Regions from separate parts of the Homo sapiens genome. Here regions 1, 2, 3, 4, 5 and 6 are each linked to region 7. Evidence: promoter capture Hi-C in 16 types of primary human blood cells and fetal thymus (Javierre and others, 2016). All regions are on one chromosome and are shown on one strand. Each heading gives the region's core, a stretch centred on a gene start or on the middle of the fragment in contact. The rest is flanking DNA. Distances are from core to core; before and after follow the strand shown.

Region 1 (2,700 bases), core at 189-2,688, 1.7 Mb before region 7:
AAAAAAATTCAAATTATTTAACATGACCAATAAAACATATGTCCATATCCTAATCTCTGAAACTTGTGAATATGTTAGATTACCTGGCAAAGGGGAATTAAGGTTGCACATGGTATTAAGAATGTTAATCAACTGACCTTAAAATAGATTCTTGATTACCCAGGTGAGACCAATATAATCACAAACATCCTTAAGAGCAGAAAAGCAGAGGTAGAAGAGAGTCAGAGGGAGATGTGACTACAGAAGAATTCTCAGACAGATGCAATGTTGCTGGCTTTGAACATGGAGAAAGTGGGCCATGGACCAAGGAATGTGGGCAGCATCCAGAAGCTAGCTGACAAAGGCAAGAAATTAATTCTCCCTTAGATTCTCTAGAAGGGAATGCAGCCCTGTAGATGCCTTGGTTTTAGCTCAGGTGGACTTCTAACCTATAGGTGATAAATTCATGTTGTTTGAAGCCACCAATTTGTGGTCATTTGTTACAGCAGTAAATAGAAAACAATGCAAAGACTCTCCATCATCTGACCTCTGCTTACCACTCCTGCTTTATCACTCACCACCTCTTCATACAATAATTTTCAAGAGGTATGCCTTAATATACTAGTATACTAGTAGTCTTCCACATGCCTCTGCCAACATTTGATCAATAAATAAAATTTAATTTTGCTACACTTAAGATGCTTACTGATATGGTGAAGTCAAATAGAATGCTGAGCTGGTGGGAAAAAAATACTGTTTGCCACAAAAAAGCAAAGAAGCCACAGTACAACATCAACTAAGATTGTATGCTTGAGTTTCACCTCAAGAGGCCCTAAAAGAGGTTCATCAGGGCAGAAGACAGTTTTACTTTAAGCTGTCTTTTAGAGGCTTCTGAAGGGGATCAAGTGAGTATGTGATACCTTTTTTGAAACTTTTTTTTTAATACAAGTGTTCAAAGTGTAATTCCTTTAAGAATGCCACCAAAAATTTTAGCACTAAAGTAGCCATGAGTATGAAAAGGCTGAGAATCACTGTTCTACACACATCCTTATCATGCTAAATTTTTTTCAAGCCATGCTTCTTCACCTCTCAATCTTCAGATAGGCTTTTCCCTGTATATGGAACCTTCCAAAATACCCTCTTCTGCTTCACCTGACCAATTCTTAACTTATTCTTCAGATCTCAGCTCAGCTCTTCTCTAGGAAAACATTCTCTAATCCTACAAGTGAATGCATGCCATTATATAATATTGCTTCCACAGTATTTTGGACCCTTATGACAGAACTTTTCACATGGAACTGTAATTGTCTAATTGTAAATTCTGCAAGTGAAAAAATTCAGTCTAGTTTGCTCTTAGCTCTATCCTATCCCCCAAAGCTTAGTGTAATGGCTGGCTGATGGAAACTATTACTGTATTTTTATAAAATGAAGCCTAGTAAATAATCATCAAGTATTTCTGTATCAGGCACTTATCACAATGTATCAATAAGGAATACTACATGCTACTTAAACACAAAGAACATGAAACTTTAAAAGCTTTCACTATGTAAAATAATTTATACCATAATACAAAAACAGGTCTTTTTTCTGCTTTGGCGTGTTACACTTTTTACCCTGTTCACGTATAAGAAAAGTGTTTTTAACAAAAAGAAATGAAAATCTATCGTATTTCATTATATCTAAGGTGTGTTTTGATACTGCCACTATTTATCTTCACAGGTGTATTAGGTTCCTGCTGCTACTATAACAAAGTACAACAAAGTCAGTGTTTACAACAACACAAATTTATTCTCTTAGAGTTCTGGAGGTCAGAGGTCCAAAATCAGTTTCACTGGGCTACAAAGTGTCAAGGGACAGGGCTGGTTCCCTTTGGACACTCTGAAGAGACAATCCGTTTCCTTGCCTTTTCCAGCTTCTAGTGGCCACTGGTATTCCTTGGCTTGTGGCCCCTTCCATCTCCAAAGCACATCACTCTAACTTCTGCTTCTGTCTTCACATTTCCTTCGCTGCTGGCTCTGACTTGTCCTGTGTCTCTCTAATAAGAACTGCTGTGATTGTATCAGGCCTACCAAGTTCCAGGAAAACCCCATCTCAAGATCCTTAACTTAATCACTGCTGCAAAGGTTTCAGGGATTAGGACATGGACATAGCTGGGGAACCCATTATTCAGCCTACCACATCAGGTATCAATGGCAGATTCTCACACAACTATATTATGATTTCACTTTATGGAAAGCAAGTTTAGAATTCCACTGATTCTAAAATGCACCCCAATTTCAGAGGTAAAAAATGTAAAAAAAAAAAAAAAAAGCATCTTAGAATAAATTAATTTGATTATTGCACTCCCCAAATTGCCCAATACAATGCCTTACATAAGCATCAAATAATCACTGAAAAACTAAAACAGGCTGGGTGCGGTGGCTCACACCTGTGATCCCAGCACTTTGGGAGGCTGAGGCAGGGGGATTGCTTGAGTCCAGGAGTTTGAGACCAGCCCAGGCAACATAGTAAGACTTCATCTCTACAAACATGAAATAAAAAATTACGCAGGTGTGGTGGTTTGTGCCTGTAGTCCCAGTAACTTGGGAGGCTGAGGTGCTAGGCTTGCTTCAGCCCAGGAGATTGAGGCCGCAGTGAGCCAAGATTGCACCACTGCACTCCAGCCTGGGTGACAGAGTGAGACCCTGTCTCAAAAAAATAAATAAAATAAAATAATAAAAA
Region 2 (2,700 bases), core at 27-2,526, 1.7 Mb before region 7:
ATTCATATGCCTTTCTTTTGTTACAGGAACCCCAGACGCACGGGCCTTGTGCTGTCGCTGCCGTGGCACCCCTTCTAGAAGGTAGATATTTTTCCTCCTGACAAACACTACAACCTTTATGAAAATATTTCACTCTTTTGCTTTAATTTCCATTACTACTATAAGTGAAAAAAGGATGAAGAATTGAATGAATAGGATTGAACCATCTACTAGGCACTGTGCTTGTAAATCTAGATATGTATTTTTTTCTATTTAATCCTAACAATAACTCCATGGGATATTTTTCTTATCCCTATTTTATCTGTGAAGAAACTAATGTTTATAGAGCTGAAGTAATCTTAGTAAAAATCATGAACCTGGAATTAGCAGAACCAGCGGTCAAACCAAGGATTATTTAGCTCCAGACCATTGCTTTACTATAAACTATACTGGGTTAATTTACATTTTTCTTCATAAAGCTATGCTAGTTATGATTTACTGTCTTGCTGTCAAAAGATTTTCAGTTTTTCATATTTAGAATTTGTTCCAGTGTACTCTACAATGGTAGATCTCAGAGTTTTTGAAATGCAGATTTGTGGGCCCAAACCCTGGACCGTATACTGATTCAGAAGTGGTGGAGATAGGGCCCTACAGCAAGCTCTCCAGGCAATTCTGATGCATGGGGAAGTTTGAGGACCACTGCTTTTGAATAGCAGAGTTAAGCTGAATTGGTTCATTCTCTTACTTTGGAAGATGATGGTCCTTTCTTTCAGGACATCTCTTCAATCTTTTACAGACCAATAAAAGTGATATTTTGTAGATTTGTGATTACAGTGTCACAAATGCCAATTATGATGTTTCCTATGTCAACTCAGATTCTCTGAGGTATAGTGTTGATGCAGATGCTGAGGCCAAGTCTGTTCAGTGAGAAAGAGTGGGTAATTGAATTAATCTCTGCTGCATATATGGAAGTGAAATAATACGTGTGTTACTATTTGTCATCCCCAACTTAGGACTCTATTCTCTATAACAGAAGTGGGAGCCTTGGACAACTGAACGCCTATCTCTAGCTCAAGAAATGTCAGCTCTTTTTTTTTTTTTGAGACTGTCACCCAGTCGGGAGTACAGTGGCGCCATCTTGGCTCTCTGTAACCTCCACCTCCTGGGTTCAAGCGATTCTCCTGCCTCAGCCTCCTGAGTAGCTGGGGCTACAGGTATGCACCATCACTCCTGGCTAATTGTTGTATTTTTAGTAGATAATGGGGTTTCACCATGTTGGCCAGGGTGGTCTCAAACTCCTGACCTCAGGTGATCTGCCTGCCTCGGCCTCCCAAAGTGCTGGGATTACAGACGTGAGCCACCATGCCCAGCCAAGAAATGTCAATTCTTTATCGTAGCCTGGCTTTCCATATTTCTCACTAGGGTTTTTATTCTCTAGTTTGTAAATCACATTTGGCGTTTGTAGATCACTCCTTCCCTTTTAGTGGCATTCTCTATTAGGTGTCCATCTCCCAATATGAAGAAACAGTTTTCTGCTTTTTCCTCCTTTATCTGATCCATTTACAGATTTATTACATTTATAATAGGCTAGGTATTGGGGATACAAAAATGAATAAGATATGGTCTGTTTTCAAAGGTATGCAGAAACTTTTCTATATATTCCTACTGACTTGTATTTGTATTTCTTGAATTAAAAACAATCCTGGCTGTGTTTTTTTTTTTTTTTTTTTGCTCTTAGTGAATCTTTGTTTCTTCTTTTCATTATGGCATTCCAGTTGAGTTTCACCACGCATTATCATGAGAATAAATAATTTCACTGACTTTAATAATATTTGATCACTTATGTTGATGTCATTTAACTCTCATTTACATTTCAGTGGTCTAAAACACAACTAAGATACTAAAAGAAAAATAAAAGATGAGATTATTGGCAAATAATTACCACATAGTCAACTCATGAACAATAGTGCATGCACTTACAGGAAATTCTCTGATTGTCACATAAACTATTTGGCTGTTGTTTCAGACATGCTGTAATTTCTGTAGTTAGACACTTAACTAGTCCACAGCAGATTAGAAACTATGAATCACAAGGCAAGGGAAGGAAATGCTGTTAATATAGGTAGTTTGAGAGGAGCAATCTCTATTAGTTGGCAGAATAAGCACAGGAAAAACAAGACAATTAGAAAAATGAATTAAAAATGCACGGTATTCTGACACAATTAGTTACATTGAACAACCCTATGTATTCCACTGGAAATATGATAAACATAGTCCACAAGTCTCTGCCATCTGAGAAATTTATAACCTAGTATTCTGAAGGAAATAAAGTGAAGGGAACTGTCACATACCGAACACCTGCTTTATAACTTGAAAGCGCTTTATGACATCACCATATATCAGGACCAAAACAGATATTCATAGATTTGGTCCTCAATTGCAAAGAAAAATTAAATTATGTTCTGTACTCTGTTTCAGAAGACCAGAGGAATACAGAACCCATTTTGGAACTTTAGAAACTCTTACATATGAACAGGTTAGGTTCCAAAATTTCCATTGTTCGTAAGTCCCAATACTCACAAGTTCGGAGTAAGCCACATATGCATTTCCAGAAAACAGAAAAGTGAGGCAGTCCTTTGAAACTTTAGAACAAAGCTTACTCTTCTTTTTACTGATATAAGTTGTATAGTGGTGCAACCCAGACTAAGGCGCATATGAATC
Region 3 (2,700 bases), core at 87-2,586, 1.8 Mb before region 7:
ATTTTAAGGAGTTTGCCCCTGTTCTTACATTTAGTAACAACATGGCCTTCCTCATTCTCTTTCAAACATTCCTGGAATTGATTTTCTGAATGCACTTAATCCTTTGGTCACAAGCTCAATGAAAAGGAAAAAAAAATGCACTTAAATATTCCCTGCATCAATTGAAACTGAAGCCCTCAGACAGCTGGAGGAAAAGGGGGGGAAGGAAAAAAAAGAACAAAATAAACAGGAAGTGAAAGTGACAAGAGAATCACACTGCTTACTTTTTGGCTTTTAAGCCTTTAACAATCTGAAAGTAATCTTAACAGTGTGGGGGAGGAACAAACGAAAACTCAGAAACAGCTCCCTCCCCAACCACACACACCCTGAAGGCTTTGGCTGTCTTTCCTCATCTGGGTCAGAGTTTGCACTCCCGGGCTCCTGTCAGGCTCCATCGCAATCCTCCTTAAACTCAGCGCTTTCCCCTTCTTCTAGTCTTTTTTGGTGCACATCCACTCTCTACTCCTCCAAGCCACGGTTCTCCACAGACCACAATACAACGGTGTCAGGCCAACTGTTACTCACCAGCACACTCATGATTCACCCGTCTCTCGGGTGTCTGAACAAAACGCGAGTTTTTCTTCCTTCTGGGAAAGGGAGGTGCTCGCAGATTTCAGGATGGAAATTTCACTCTCCTGCGACCGTCCACACCCGGGACGGTCACTGCCCCGTTCATCGTTTCCGGGCTCCTTAGGGGCTCGGGCACTGATCACCAAGAGGGAACCGGCCCCGCGGCGCAGCGGCTTTGGAAACTTGCTCCTGACCGAGAGCTGCAGCCCAGAAACTGCCTCCCAGGTTATTCTGCTGCTCCCAGGCCGAAGTCTGGTGGTCCCCGCACCCTATCTCGGCCCGGGTGAGGCACCCCCAGCCGCAGCGCTCTGGCTTCACCTTCCCCGGGCCCGGAGTCTTGACCTCAGCCCAGGCCTCCGTGACCCACGTCGGCCGCCCGGCCACCACCTGTCGGGACCGCCCGGCGCGCGGAGCCCGGCAGCCAGCAAAACGCAGTTGACTGCTCGGCCGCTCGGCTTTTGCTCCCGCCAAAGTTGTCCAACGCAAACTTTGCACCAGCCTACCCCGAACCCCCACAGCCCGGCACCCGCTCTTACCTGGGGCGGAGGCGGCAGCGGCCACGGGCGCGCTGGGCGCCAGGTGCCAGGGGTCGGCAGCAGCCGCGTGCGCCACGGCCAGAGGCCCCTCTGGAGCATCCTCCCGCCCCAGGCGCGCGGCTCCCGCAGGCGTCAGCGGCGCATCCTCCCTCAGCCGGGCTCCTCGTCAGCGCCTGGTGGCTCCGAGCTGTGGGCGCTCCCGCCCCGCCTGCTCGCTCAGCGCGCCGCGGCTCCAGCTTGGGCGGGCTCACGGGAGGGTGTGTCCCTGTTTCCACTTGTCGGCTCTCTACGCATCCGGGCGCAGGGCTGTTTTCTTTCCTCCGACCAAAAAAAAAAAAAAAAAAGAGAGCGAGAGAGCGGGAGCCCGAGAGCGGGAGCCCGAGGTCGAGGGCCCCCTCCTTCTCCAGCAGAAGACCCTCTGGAATGAACAGCAGCAGGCGACGCACACCTTGCGAGCTCTAGATTTCAAAACTCGCTGTTAATTCCCGGTGCTGCGTGCTCTGAGCGCCGTCTTCGCCATCCAACCCAGACGGGGATGAGACGAAAACAGCGTCCGGCATCTGGAGGGGGCAGGGCCGCTCAGGAAGTTTGTTTTCCCCACCGAGCTTGGAGAAGACGGATTGAAGCGGGTCGGCCGAGGCCTCTCCCACCTCCACAACCTCCAAGGCCTCTGCCCCGGGCTGCGGTGCCGGGCCCCTGCTCGCTGGCGAGTGCGGTGTGAGGCGGGCAGCCCGGGCCTACCCCTGCGGAGGTTTGTAGTTCACGGTATAGGGGCCCAAACCCGAGTTTTTTGGGAAAGTATCTCCCACAGAATTGGCTTCTCTTTTGAAGCACGTTTTTAATTGAAGAAGCTTCGGAACCGGTATTGAGTTCTTCTAACTACTGGGAAATCGGATGCTTTGTTTTGAGACTACTTATTTTTGAAAGCAAACCAAAGGCATTAAAGAGCAACCTAAACCAATTACAGTAGGGTTGTTAGATAAAATATAGGATGCCCAGTTAAACTTGAATTTTAGATACAAATAGTGAAGTATGTCCCAAATATTGCATGGGTCACATTTATTATTTTAAAAATGAAATATCTGGGATATACTAAATTATTTGGTGTTTATCTGAATTCAAATTTAACTGGGCACTCCGCATTTTTATCTCCTGAATCTGCAAGAGGGTTCAGTTAATGAATCAAAATTGGCAAACCTGCAATAAGTGGCAAATCACTCCTGGCGGTAATCTCCTTTCCTTATTGAAAAGGGAAAGAATCACAAGTTTCTACTATAGTAAAAACTTTATCACTATTAAAGGCTGATTCACCTGTGTTAACTAGCATGTCTTTCAAAATACAGTTGCCCCAGATGGAGAGTGACACATGAAACTTTAAGTTCATATGGGAAGGTAAATTACCTTACCTGAATCTTTTCCTCCTATTAGCTAGTGCTCCAAGTGAAAGAAGCGTGTATTTTTGTTTTTTTGTTGTGAAGGGTTCTTGTTTAATACAACTGAAAAGAATGCCTATACAAAGAATTGACATGAAAAAGCATTGATTCAACACTCATGA
Region 4 (2,700 bases), core at 166-2,665, 1.7 Mb before region 7:
AGCTCATGTTCAAATCCCCTCTTCTCCTCTTCTTAGGCCAGTCTCATAATGTTTCCGACATCTGGTATGGTTTAAAGGAACTCTTGCCTGGAAATAGAAGTTCTTTCCAGACCATGATATAAATTTCTAGTAAAAGCAAATGAATGAATATATAGCAAGAAACAACAATTCACAAGGAAGTTGCCCTGGAAGTGGGCTGTTGTAGTAAAAGGAGGCATTTGCCTGTTACTGAGTCCCAATAGCCTGATCACTCTTGCCCAATCAGGAACTTTCTGTCACATTGTGCTGTTTGCCATTGCAGTGCTCAGCAGACTGAGGATTACAGTATGTGCATTGGCACTTGTTATACAGCAAGTGCAAACAGCTGGGTTTCTTGCTGTTCATGAGTGCCAAGATATTATTCCTCATAAGACTTTTTAACTGCTTTTGCAGTTAGTAACATCAGTGCCTGGGAAATCAAACATTTTATCTAGTGGTTTGTTAACTTAATGCTATTTTCCAGATGTTTTTTAGGGCTGTTCCTCCAATGTTGATTTGTGGTGGCGTTGATATTTTCTTTCTATAGCATTTTATTATTTTTGAGCAGTGATATTTAATTTAGTTTGGGGAAATGTCTTTTCCAAACTTTTGTTTCTGATGACACACAGTTATTTTGAATCTTGTGTCAATCCCACAAACTACAGGACTTGGCCTGATTATAGACATGACTAGACAAAAGAAGCTCTAGAAGAGCTGCCACACCAGACTTTCACTTTTATTGAGGTTACCACTCACACTGATAGATTACAGGCCCATGGCATTTTAGAGTCAGAGACATTCTTTACTCAGATCCCCTCTTTATTCACAACAAAATAACTGGAACTTATAGATGTCAAATAATTTTACCTTAGCCCACACAGCTAGCTGTTAGTAAAATCAGAACTATGACCAGATCTCCTAGGTACAGGGGAGAGGAAACCTTTTTTCCATGCTTCTCACCTGGAGGCGTATGTGTGAATCCCCTTACCCCCTTTAGTGGCCTGAGGATTCATTCATTGGCAAAGAAGTCTCCTGACAGCATTTTGAAGAGGCAGAACAAACTCCTGCTGCCAGTCTACAGGAGCCATCACTCTTTCCCAGTGAGCAGCTGGCATGTGGCCAGCCTTCCCTTTCTGCAGCTTGGACTGCTAAAGTATCACGTGGATGGAGCAGCTCTGTGCAAAGCCACTTTTCCAGAACTGTTTCCATGTCTCCACTCCCCAATCCATCCTTCTCCCCACAAGCTCTCTCCTACCACACAAACACACCAAGGGCCTCTTAAAGCTTTCTCCATCCATAGTGAGAGAGAGAGGGGGGAAAGAATCAAGTTTGGTATGCTGGAACATACATGTGAGGCAGAAAAGTTCTGAAAGTTGAGAGCAGCTTATAAATAACTCAGGTTAGATGTTGCCGATGATGGGAAGTATATATAGGAAACACCATCATTTAAAAAATGTATTCTTTGAAAATGAAGAATGACAGCATACAGACCAAACTCCCAAAAGCTTAACAGAAATTCTCATAAAACTGTAGGTAGACTTACATTATATTACACAAATTTTAAACTCTGGATCTGGGCCGAAAACATCACCTGCTTTAGGTCTTCAAATAGACACTTAAGAGCTATGGAATAGTACAATTGACCGGGAAAACACTTTAAGATTTGGTTGTAATCTACAGACTGTCAGCTTAGGGGTAACTGGTAAAGTAATTTGTGCTCTCCTTTTGTCCATTTTAATTGATGATATTCCTCTGCAGCAAGCCTTACAGGAGAAATCGAAACACAGCTGCTACATTGTAAGTCCACAAGTGAAATAAGCAGTGTCCAGTGGATAACAAGAAGGCTCCCAGAATAGCTCCTCAAAAAATCTGCCTTCTTCCTTTACTACCAAGAATCCTAACCTGTAGGCTCAAAGATGATTCAAACATTGAGGGCAGTGGTACTTGGGATTCAAAGGCACATTGGTGCAGAAAGGAGCCCATAGCATGCTGTTGACAATTTGACCAGGTGAGTCAACAATAGCAAAGAAGGCCTAGAATATGAGCTTTGAAATCCGAGTGCAAAGTCACCCCTACGAGAATATACCTGATTTATTTTGTTTGATTATATTGACACTTTTGCTATTTGTCATCATTTCAGCATGCATGCACTTAGATTTGTTAGTCCCACTGTCCTGTAACATCTCCCAATCCAGAACACATTAATGATCAGTAGACTGTGGCTGTCCAGTTTGGTGTCACCTTTAAGGGGCTCCTCTCTCCACGTAGGCCAGGCAAGACTTCACTGCACATTTACAGAACAAGGACCTTCTGTCTCAGATGCCTGACTCACCAGCTCCACTGCCCTGCATTCCGTTCTCTCACTCTCTTGGCTTCCAGTGTTGTTGCCAGTGGTTTGGGTCCTCACCCTACTCTTTCACCTCAATGCTTAATATAGCCATGTTTGGCTTTTGAATTTGCTTTTCCTCTCATCTACATTTTCATCTCTCCACCGTGGCTTGAAGTAATCACAATTTTGGGATAACAAAGCCATTCTATGCTTGGCTTTGGTCAGTCCCTAGAATTTACCAAGTCACAGCCAGGTGAGGTGGCTCACGCCTATAATCCCAGCACTTTGGGAGGCCAAGGCGGGCGGATCATAAGGTCAGGAGTTCAAGACCAGCCTGGCCAACATGTGAAACC
Region 5 (2,730 bases), core at 123-2,622, 1.5 Mb after region 7:
ATTTGGCATTGTGTAATGAAGTAGAAAGTGCACATATCCTATGGCTTAGAAATTTGGGTCTAGGTTGTTAACCTTGGGAACCTTTTGCAGATGTATACCATACATGGCATTCTGTGCAACGTTGTTCATAATGTTAATAATAAAAAGCAGGAAACAGCCTAAATGCCATTGCCATTTGAATGTATAAATAATGTTATGTTCATATAATAGAAATAAGAATTTAATGGATATAGCTTCATCCAACAATATAGATAATCTTGATTGAAAGAGCAAAAGAATACAGTCATCCTAATTCCAGTGTTATAAAGTTCAGAAATATGCTTGACTAAACAGTACATTTTTTAGGGATACAAACATGGTAAAACCATCAGGAAATGGAAGAGAATGACAAACACAAAAATTCCAGGTGTCTTCTCTGGAGGAACAGGGGTGGAGATACAATCAGGGAGAAGCACAAAGGGACTTTTGGTGATAATTTTATGTTCTTCACTTAAACTGCTTCTTGGTACATGGGTGTTCATTGAAGCTTTCTTCTTTATGCCTTATTCATATTTAATAGGCAGTGTTTTGCATTTATTCAATATTTGCTAAACCGGTTTTCAAAAAACGTTTTATGTCAGTGAAGTTGTGAGGAAATAGGCACCCTCATGTATTACTTATGACAATATAAATTGATACAACCTCCCCAAAGGGCAACTTGGTGTGGTAAATCAAAATTTAAAATGCACATACCTTACGATCTTGGAATGCCACTTCTAAGAATATATCTGTCATTTATATGCATATACTTGTGGGATATGTAATAGTCATAATATATTCATCTCATTATTGGTAATAGCAAAAGAATGGAAGTTCCAAAATGTTTTTGTTTCATCAAATTAAGTACATCAATGAAATTATTGGGAGTTTTCAAAAAGAATGAGGAAACTCTATACTTGTGTTTTTAAAGAACAATCTCTAAAATACACTTTAAGTGGAAAAAAGGTATATAGCAATATGTATAGTATTCCACCATGTGGGGCAGAGGTGATGGGTGGACAAAGTTATATATACATAAATATGTATGGATGACAGGGGTGTAGAGATAGGAGTTTTACTTTTCAATTTGTATCTTTTTTATAGCATTAACATTCTTACTACTAAAAATAAATACTTTTTTAAAAGATAAAATGCACTTTAAATATTAATTCAGCGTTAAGGGAAGATAGGCAATAAGAAGGAAGGAAAAACACTTGGAAGCCTAGAGGACTGTGTTAAAAACACAGAGAGAAGCAAATAAAGGAGCTAATGCTGGAGGGAGACATGAAGGTTTTAAAACTATTTCAGACTTGTGTATATTTTCTCTTGATTCCTTGACATTAAAGTTCTGTATTATGATGGTTAGTTTAGAATGCTTTCTAGCAACAGTTGTTAATTTAATTGCATGAGACTTTTACATAGATCTTACCACATTGATTGTAAAAATGTACTATCGCTTCTTTCCCTGTTGTAATTTTTCATTATTTTAATGTATCATTACAGGTATCCCTCGTACTTGGCCCCTGAGGTAATTGCACAGGGAATTTTCAAAACCACTGATCACATGCCAAGTAAAAAACCATTGCCTTCTGGCCCCAAATCAGATGTATGGTCTCTTGGAATCATTTTATTTGAGCTTTGTGTGGTATGTATAAAGAAATATTAATATAATAAAAGGAAATTGTGCATTTATTGGAATAATCTTTTGGAGAGGAAAGTTAATAATAGTATGTTTTTGCTGTACAAATTAATTACATATGAGGAGAAAAGGCTTAATTTGACTTAATCATGTTTGATAATTTCACATATTTTTTGGCATCTCTGGAAACATACTTTTACTAAGTGTGAATGTAAATGTTACCAGATATATATTATTTTGATATCTCTATAATGTGTATATTTTTACAAAGTTAAGATGTTTATATTAAGTTATATAAGATATATGGAGTACCATTAAAAGTTTAACAAGATATTGAAATGAAAACTACGTTTTTAGAAGATTGATATGACAGTAATGTAAGATTGAGAAGAATAGCAGCTTTTTTTCAATGAACTCTACCTGTAGTTCTGATTTGGTAAGTGTTTAAGAACATTTTTTCTTCTCTATTAAAAAAAAATCAAAGCATCTCTTTTTTCTATAAACACCAGGTAATCTTAAGCCTTTTCCTTCTAAGTTTATTTAAATGATCATATAAGCTTAATTTGTTTATGATAAGAGAAATATAATGATAGCCAACATTAATGAAGCATATTCTGCATTACATAACCCTCACCATAACCTGTGGTATATGTACAGTTAATATTTTAATTTTACAGATGAGAAAAGTGAAACTTCAGGTGGTATTAAGTAGTTTGCCAAATTTATATAACTATTTGATGGTGGAAGAGTCCAATTTGGCACACAATCATTGCTCAACTCATAAATGCTGAAGGTATAAGTGTTTGACTCCAGACCTTATACTAAGGAGCCTCCTGAGGCAGACTAGTAAGGAAATAATTAAAATATAATGTGTGCATCTTAAAATATACCAGGTGCTGTAGGAGCATGAAGGATGGCTGTCTGAAGTTATTGTGGTAAGAGGAAGGAGTGTTATGAAGTTTTTTTAATGGAGAAACAGACTAACCGAATCATGATATTTAAGTAAGAATTAGCTCGGTAGGCGAAAGAGTATAATCAGTCTTACCCAGGAGGCATCTTGGTCTCAATAAAGT
Region 6 (2,700 bases), core at 196-2,695, 2.0 Mb before region 7:
TCTACTAAAAATACAAAATTAACCTGGACATGGTGGCACATCCTGTAATCCCAGTTACTTGGGAGGCTGAGGCAGAAGAATCGTTTGAACCCAGGAGGCAGAGGTTGCAAAAGATCGCACCACTGTACTCCAGCCTTGGTGACAAAGCAAGACTGTCTCAAAAACAAAAGATTGTTGTTTAGTGTAGCTGCCTTTATCAATGATTTTAGCTAGATCTGGATAACCTGATGCAGCTTCTACGTTAGCACCTGCTGCTTCACCTTGCACTTTTATGTCATGAAGATAGTTTCTTTCCTTAAACCTCAGGAACCATCCTCTCTGCTAGCTTCCAGCTTTTCTTTTGCAATTCCCTCACCTCTCTCAGCCTCCATAGAATTGAAGAGTTAGGGCCTTGCTCTGGATTAGGCTTTGGCTTAAGGGAATGTTGTGGCTGTTTTTATCTTCTATCCAGACCAACTAGAACTTTCTCCATATCAGCAATAAGGCTGTTTAGCTTTATTGTCTTTTGTGTGTTTACTGGAGTAGCATTTTTAATTTCCTTCAAAATTTTTTCCTTTGCATTCATGACTTGGCTTTTCTCCTTTGCACTCACAACTTGGCTAACTGGAGCAAGAAGCCTAGCTTTCTGCCTACCAACATTACTTCCTCACTAACTTAATCATGTTTGCTTTTGATTTAAAGTGACAGGCTCTTCCTTTCATTTGGACACTTAGAGGCCTTTGTAGGATTATTAGTTGGCCTAATTTCAAAATTGTGTTTCCAGGAATAGGGAGGCCCCAGGAGGGGGAGAGAGAAGGGAAAGTTCGGTGGAACAGTCCAAACACATACAGGGCTTATGGATTAATTTCCCCTTCCTTTATGAGCGCGGTTCATGGTGCCCCAAAACAATTGCAATAATATTAAAGATTACTGATCACAGATCACAACAGCAGACATAATAACAATGAAAAATTTTGAAATATTGCGAGAGTACCAAAATGTGACACAGAGACACAAAGCGAGCCAATGTTGAAATACAGGCAGTATCTGCTAAGCGGTATAAAACAATCTATGCCTGTACCTCTAGAAAGTACAGGCATAGCAAAGTAAGGAATAGCAAATGTTTGGGGCAGCTGGGATTAAATGAGTCCGAGCTCACACAAGTGATGTGAAATTGCCTCGGGCTAGGCGGTCTGTGTGTCCCCCCGGGTGGCAACTGGCATGTCCCCAGGGCACGGTTAGTCCCAGCGGGCCTGGAGGCGAAGACCGCGTACCTCTCCCTGCCCCCGCGCTCTTGGTCCCCGCGGGCTCCGGAGCGACTGGGAGGAGCTTTAACTCTGGGAAGGACCAGCCCGATCCACGGGAGCCCGGGCGGCGCGCAATCAGAACCAACTGGCCCCACGCTCGGGGGCAGGGGGCGGGGCCGCCGAGGAAGGGCCGAGGGCGGGGCCGGGCCCGGGAGCCTGTGGCTTCAGGAAGAGGAGGGCAAGGTGTCTGGCTGCGCGTTTGGCTGCAATGAGCTCGGCCTCGGGGCTCCGCAGGGGGCACCCGGCAGGTAGGCAGGGGGCGTCGACTGGGCACCGAGCAGGTCTGCGTCTTGCTCCGGCTGGAGGGGAAACGAGGGTTAGTGGACCGGGCGCGCGGACCGGAGTGGGGCCGCGGGTTCCTTCGGCTTTGCAGGGCGGCCTGGAGAAGTTGCACTCTTGGATTGAAGCGCTCAGGGCGGGTGGGGACGGTTTCGCGCTTCAGTCTAAGAAACACTCGGGGACCTGGCTGCCGCCTCCTGGCGGTCCCGAGTAGCGACGCCGGCGCCGGGGCGTGCCCCTGCCGCCTTTGTCCTCCGGGGCGATGAGCGCTTTCGGGGCGCCCCGGCTGTTTAAACCTTAAAAGGCTGTCCCCACGCGGGCCTGGCGTTCCCCCACACCTGGCCGTTTGAAATGTTGGGGGTTGGATCTTTTGTTTGCTCACTTCGAAAAGTGAAAAGGAGGGGTTGTTCCGCCGAGTCATAATGAAAACATAACAGGCCCGCGGGGTGCCCGGGCCAAGACCCTGGGTCCTCCCGGGCTTCAGCTGGAGGCGGCCAGTTCCTGGCGGCCAGCACACCCCGGTATCTCTCTTCTTCATCCAGGAAACCTGCTGCTGTCTGTCGGTTTGAGCCAAAACCACAATAACTTTTTTCTGCAAAGTAATCAACTGCTAAGAGCGTACGTTCTGTCACTTATTACTGGTAAAGTTTAGAAACTTCAAGCCTGGCCAGAGTGAAACAAACAAAAAGGTCGAAACGCCTGCAGTTGGCCGGCCGTGGTGGCTCACGCCTTGTAATCCCAACACTTTGGGAGGCCGAGGCGGGCGGATCACCAGAGGTCGGGAGTTCTCGACCAGCCTAACTAACACGGTGAAACCCCGTCTCTACTAAAAATACAAAAAAATTAGCCAGGCCTGGGCGCAAGCTACTGGGGAGGCTGAGACAAGAGAATCGTTTGAACCCTGGAGGTGGAGGTTGCAGTGAGCCGAGATCGCCCCACTGCACTCCAACCTCGGCGACAGAGTGAGACTTCGAATCAAGAAGAAAAAAAAAAAAAAAGAACGAAACGCCTGCAGTTGGTTAGAGTGCCTTTGTTTAAGAACTCTTTATATTTTGCTGCACAAAGGAAATGGTGCTCCAGAGGCAAGCTGTAAAAGTCACATGGTCGTAGAGGAGGTAGATAGGTAGCCTTGTCC
Region 7 (2,739 bases), core at 173-2,672:
CAGGCAGCAGTCTCAGGTCTTGGTGATGGGCGGGGTCAGGGGCGGAGGGCGGCTGTGTCACAGGGGGGCAGAGCTGCAAGCAACTCTTTTGGTGCCAGGGGCAAGCTGCGGAAAAGAGAACTCAGAGTTATGGGGGGTGTGGGGAAGATAACTCCTGGAGGAAACTCTGTCATGCCCCCAGCCCATCCTCCTACGAACTAGCCCTGGAATAATTAGGTGAATTTGAAAATGTCCTCCGTAGGCGGGAGTTCTATTCGGGGTTACCTGCGGCCTCCCCGGTCCTGGATTTCAGTCCTCTAGGTATTTCCTGAGTAGCTCTTAATAATACAGAAGCCCCTTTCCGGTGTAGGTCGGTAAGAAGCACTGCACAGAAATCTGATGCGAAGTGGGGTCTCCTAGCGGAGAGGGAGGCACCTTATAAGTAATCACTAATCCAGGTTGAGATATTAATTATTGATGTCAAGAAATCGGGCTTTTATTATATCTTTTTAAAAACTGTGTCTTGAGGCCAGGCGCTGTCGCTCACGCCTGGAATCCCAGCACTTTGGGAAGCTGAGGCGGGCGGATCATGAGGTCAGGAATTCGAGACCAGCCTGGCCAACATAGTGAAACCCCGTCTCTACTAAAAATACAAAAATTAGCCGGGCGTGGTGGCACACGCCTGTAGTCCCAGCTACTCGGGAGGCTGAGGCAGGAGAATCGCTTGAACCCGGGAGGCAGAGGTTGCGGTGAGCCGAGATCCTACTACTGCACTCCAGCCTGGGCGACAGAGCAAGACTCCGTCTCAAAAAAAGAAAAAAAATTGTGTCTTGAGTAGAATTTTAATGTGGAGAATGAGCTGTTCGGTAAATCAATTCTTCCCTTTGCAAAGCTGTAAAACATTTAAAACATTTGGCCAGGGTGACATGGGCACAGAAGGGGCAGACAGGAGGTCGGCAGCCAGGTCTGTGGAGGAGTAGCCACAGGTGCAAGAGGCCGCGTCAGCGTCCTCCCAATCAGCCTCTGCTGAGGGAGTGCCGCGCGCGGCGAGCCGCGCACTCCCCTTGCCTTTCTCCCGGCGGCTGGTACTCGCTCTTAGAGATCTGCGTTAGCTCAGAGCTAGGCTCGGTGCCGCAGAGGCACCTGAGGTTCCACGACTGCATTCCAGGCCCCGCCCCTTCATCGGGATCTGGAAGGAGGAGCGCCGTGCGCGCCCGCGCCGGCGCGAGCGCTGAAGCTCCGCCCCCAGCTTCTACCTCCGGTTCTATCCCGGCGTTTCGCCCTTCCCCACAGACCTCTGCCCCGGACCCATTTCCGAGGCGCGCCGCATGCGCCGCGCAACCCAGGCCACGAGCACGGGCGCGTGCTTAAGTCAGCGCGCGCCCGCTCCGACGCGAGGAGGCCCCGCCCTCCAGCCCCGCCCCGCTCGCTGGCCTGCCCTCCTCTTGCTACCCTCCCGGCGCAGAGAACCCCGGCTGCTCAGCGCGCTCCGCGGTCATGGAGATCCCCGGGAGCCTGTGCAAGAAAGTCAAACTGAGCAATAACGCGCAGAACTGGGTAAGCTGGGGACGAAGGCGAGACGGCGAGGAGCGGAGGGGCTGTGGGAGCAGCTCGTTCCGGAGCCGCCGCCTCTCTCCCGCCTCCTCCGCATCCATCCTTCCAGGAGCGCGGAGGTGGGTTCCGGGGCTGCGGCGCCTCCCGGCTGGGGCCGTGGGTGGTTGCGAGGCAGAGGGGCGCGGCGCAGGGTGGGGATCTCGCCCTAGCTTGGCGCAGCGTGCGGTCCGAGCCACCGTTCGTGGGAAGAACGCCCCCCCTCCCCAGCGCCTCCGCTCAGGTAAGACCCCCAGGAAAATCCTTCACCCGTGAACTGGCGCTTGCTGAAACCTCCGGGTGCTGAAACCTGCGGCTGCAGAAACAGGAGCTTCCTGCATACCTTGGAGTGGCCTGAAGATGTGCAGAGAAGGCGGAGGCGGGCGCCTTCGACGCGTTCTTGGTTTTTCTTGGCTCTGCCAGTGCGGTTGGCCCAGGTTTGGGTCCATCTCCGTGTCTTTCCATTTCTGAGTTTCAGTGTGAAAGGAGAGTACCCAACAATGTGGTCATTCATGAGTTGAGACTGCCCTGAACTGAGGTTCTTTGTGTCTCTGTGTTAAATCGGAATGTTTAACAAGTAGGAGTTTGGAAGACTCCATTCCTGGTGACAGTCAGGTATGGGACCAGTCCTTTATAACGTTTAGTAATGACTGCCAGTTGACTTTGTAAAGTGCTGTGTCCTCATAACGTTGCTTACTTCCTTAATTTCTCTGTGATGAGAAAGAGCCTTATCTTCCTTTGTAAGTGTGCAGCAGGGAAGGGCCCATCTTTGGAGTCTGGAAAGGCACTGGTTTAAGTTTAGACGGAAACGTTATTTCACAGTCCAATGGAATAATAAGGTTTAAATGCAATGTCTCCCAAAACGTTACTTGCCCTAGATGAATCAAAGAAAAAAAAAACAAGCAATTTCAGGCAAATGTTCTTTGGAAGTCATTAATTTACCACATCTGTTGTTATTGTTATCATGAGTTGTTTACTGATTCCTCTCTCCTTTTATTTAACTCTATAGATGGTAAGGAGGGGAAGGAGATTTAAAAGATGAATTAGAACAGTGGAAAGAGCGCTGGACTCCTGGCCTGGTCTCTCATCCCAGCTTTGCCATTTACTAGCTGTGTGATCTTGAGGAGAGTCACTTTACTTTTTCGAACCTCAGTTGACTTAAGGGTATAA

The links. Contacts are between HindIII fragments. The CHiCAGO score rates a contact against its expected background, and 5 or more counts as called.
Region 1: a contact is called between a fragment that was not itself captured here and the fragment with the promoter of PAPSS1 in region 7, in 1 of 17 cell types (fetal thymus). The highest score is 7.1, in fetal thymus.
Region 2: a fragment that was not itself captured here is called in contact with the fragment with the promoter of PAPSS1 in region 7 in 7 of 17 cell types (fetal thymus, non-activated CD4 T cells, activated CD4 T cells and 4 more); the score reaches 12.2 in fetal thymus.
Region 3: the fragment with the promoter of MCUB here is called in contact with the fragment with the promoter of PAPSS1 in region 7 in 7 of 17 cell types (fetal thymus, activated CD4 T cells, naive CD4 T cells and 4 more); the score reaches 13.2 in fetal thymus.
Region 4: a fragment that was not itself captured here is called in contact with the fragment with the promoter of PAPSS1 in region 7 in 1 of 17 cell types (non-activated CD4 T cells); the score reaches 5.4 in non-activated CD4 T cells.
Region 5: a contact is called between a fragment that was not itself captured here and the fragment with the promoter of PAPSS1 in region 7, in 4 of 17 cell types (total B cells, naive CD8 T cells, total CD8 T cells and 1 more). The highest score is 6.1, in total B cells.
Region 6: a contact is called between the fragment with the promoter of CASP6 here and the fragment with the promoter of PAPSS1 in region 7, in 7 of 17 cell types (activated CD4 T cells, total CD8 T cells, fetal thymus and 4 more). The highest score is 13.3, in activated CD4 T cells.

The regions. Positions count from the first base shown.
Region 1 is chr4:109,445,557-109,448,256 of GRCh38, reverse strand. The region is part of intron 1 of SEC24B (SEC24 homolog B, COPII component); the gene reads right to left. Among named protein-coding and RNA genes, the nearest start is that of SEC24B-AS1, 13 kb to the right of the region's middle. The HindIII fragment of the contact is 159 bases long and covers 1,359-1,517 here.
Region 2 is chr4:109,429,073-109,431,772 of GRCh38, reverse strand. It overlaps SEC24B-AS1 (SEC24B antisense RNA 1), which reads left to right. Exons shown (of 3, transcript NR_039978.1): 2 at 27-81; 3 at 993-1,810. Among named protein-coding and RNA genes, the nearest start is that of SEC24B, 3.4 kb to the left of the region's middle. The HindIII fragment of the contact is 2,721 bases long and covers 1-2,636 here.
Region 3 is chr4:109,558,882-109,561,581 of GRCh38, reverse strand. It overlaps MCUB (mitochondrial calcium uniporter dominant negative subunit beta), which reads right to left and starts at 1,336. Exons shown (of 8, transcript NM_017918.5): 1 at 1,146-1,336. The coding sequence starts at 1,244. RefSeq lists an enhancer at 450-649 and a silencer at 1,070-1,389. The HindIII fragment of the contact is 4,460 bases long and covers 1-1,998 here.
Region 4 is chr4:109,410,630-109,413,329 of GRCh38, reverse strand. No RefSeq gene overlaps it. Among named protein-coding and RNA genes, the nearest start is that of SEC24B, 22 kb to the left of the region's middle. The HindIII fragment of the contact is 221 bases long and covers 1,305-1,525 here.
Region 5 is chr4:106,250,799-106,253,528 of GRCh38, reverse strand. TBCK (TBC1 domain containing kinase) reads left to right here. Exons shown (of 26, transcript NM_001163435.3): 6 at 1,522-1,663. Among named protein-coding and RNA genes, the nearest start is that of TBCK, 64 kb to the left of the region's middle. The HindIII fragment of the contact is 1,688 bases long and covers 529-2,216 here.
Region 6 is chr4:109,702,190-109,704,889 of GRCh38, reverse strand. It overlaps CASP6 (caspase 6), which reads left to right and starts at 1,445. Exons shown (of 7, transcript NM_001226.4): 1 at 1,445-1,534. The coding sequence starts at 1,495. RefSeq lists enhancers at 1,024-1,073, 1,964-2,023 and silencers at 1,234-1,523, 1,674-1,783. The HindIII fragment of the contact is 4,197 bases long and covers 1-2,700 here.
Region 7 is chr4:107,718,917-107,721,655 of GRCh38, reverse strand. PAPSS1 (3'-phosphoadenosine 5'-phosphosulfate synthase 1) reads left to right here and starts at 1,422. Exons shown (of 12, transcript NM_005443.5): 1 at 1,422-1,536. The coding sequence starts at 1,477. RefSeq lists enhancers at 1-119, 2,110-2,169 and a silencer at 1,230-1,479. The HindIII fragment of the contact is 5,198 bases long and covers 1-2,739 here.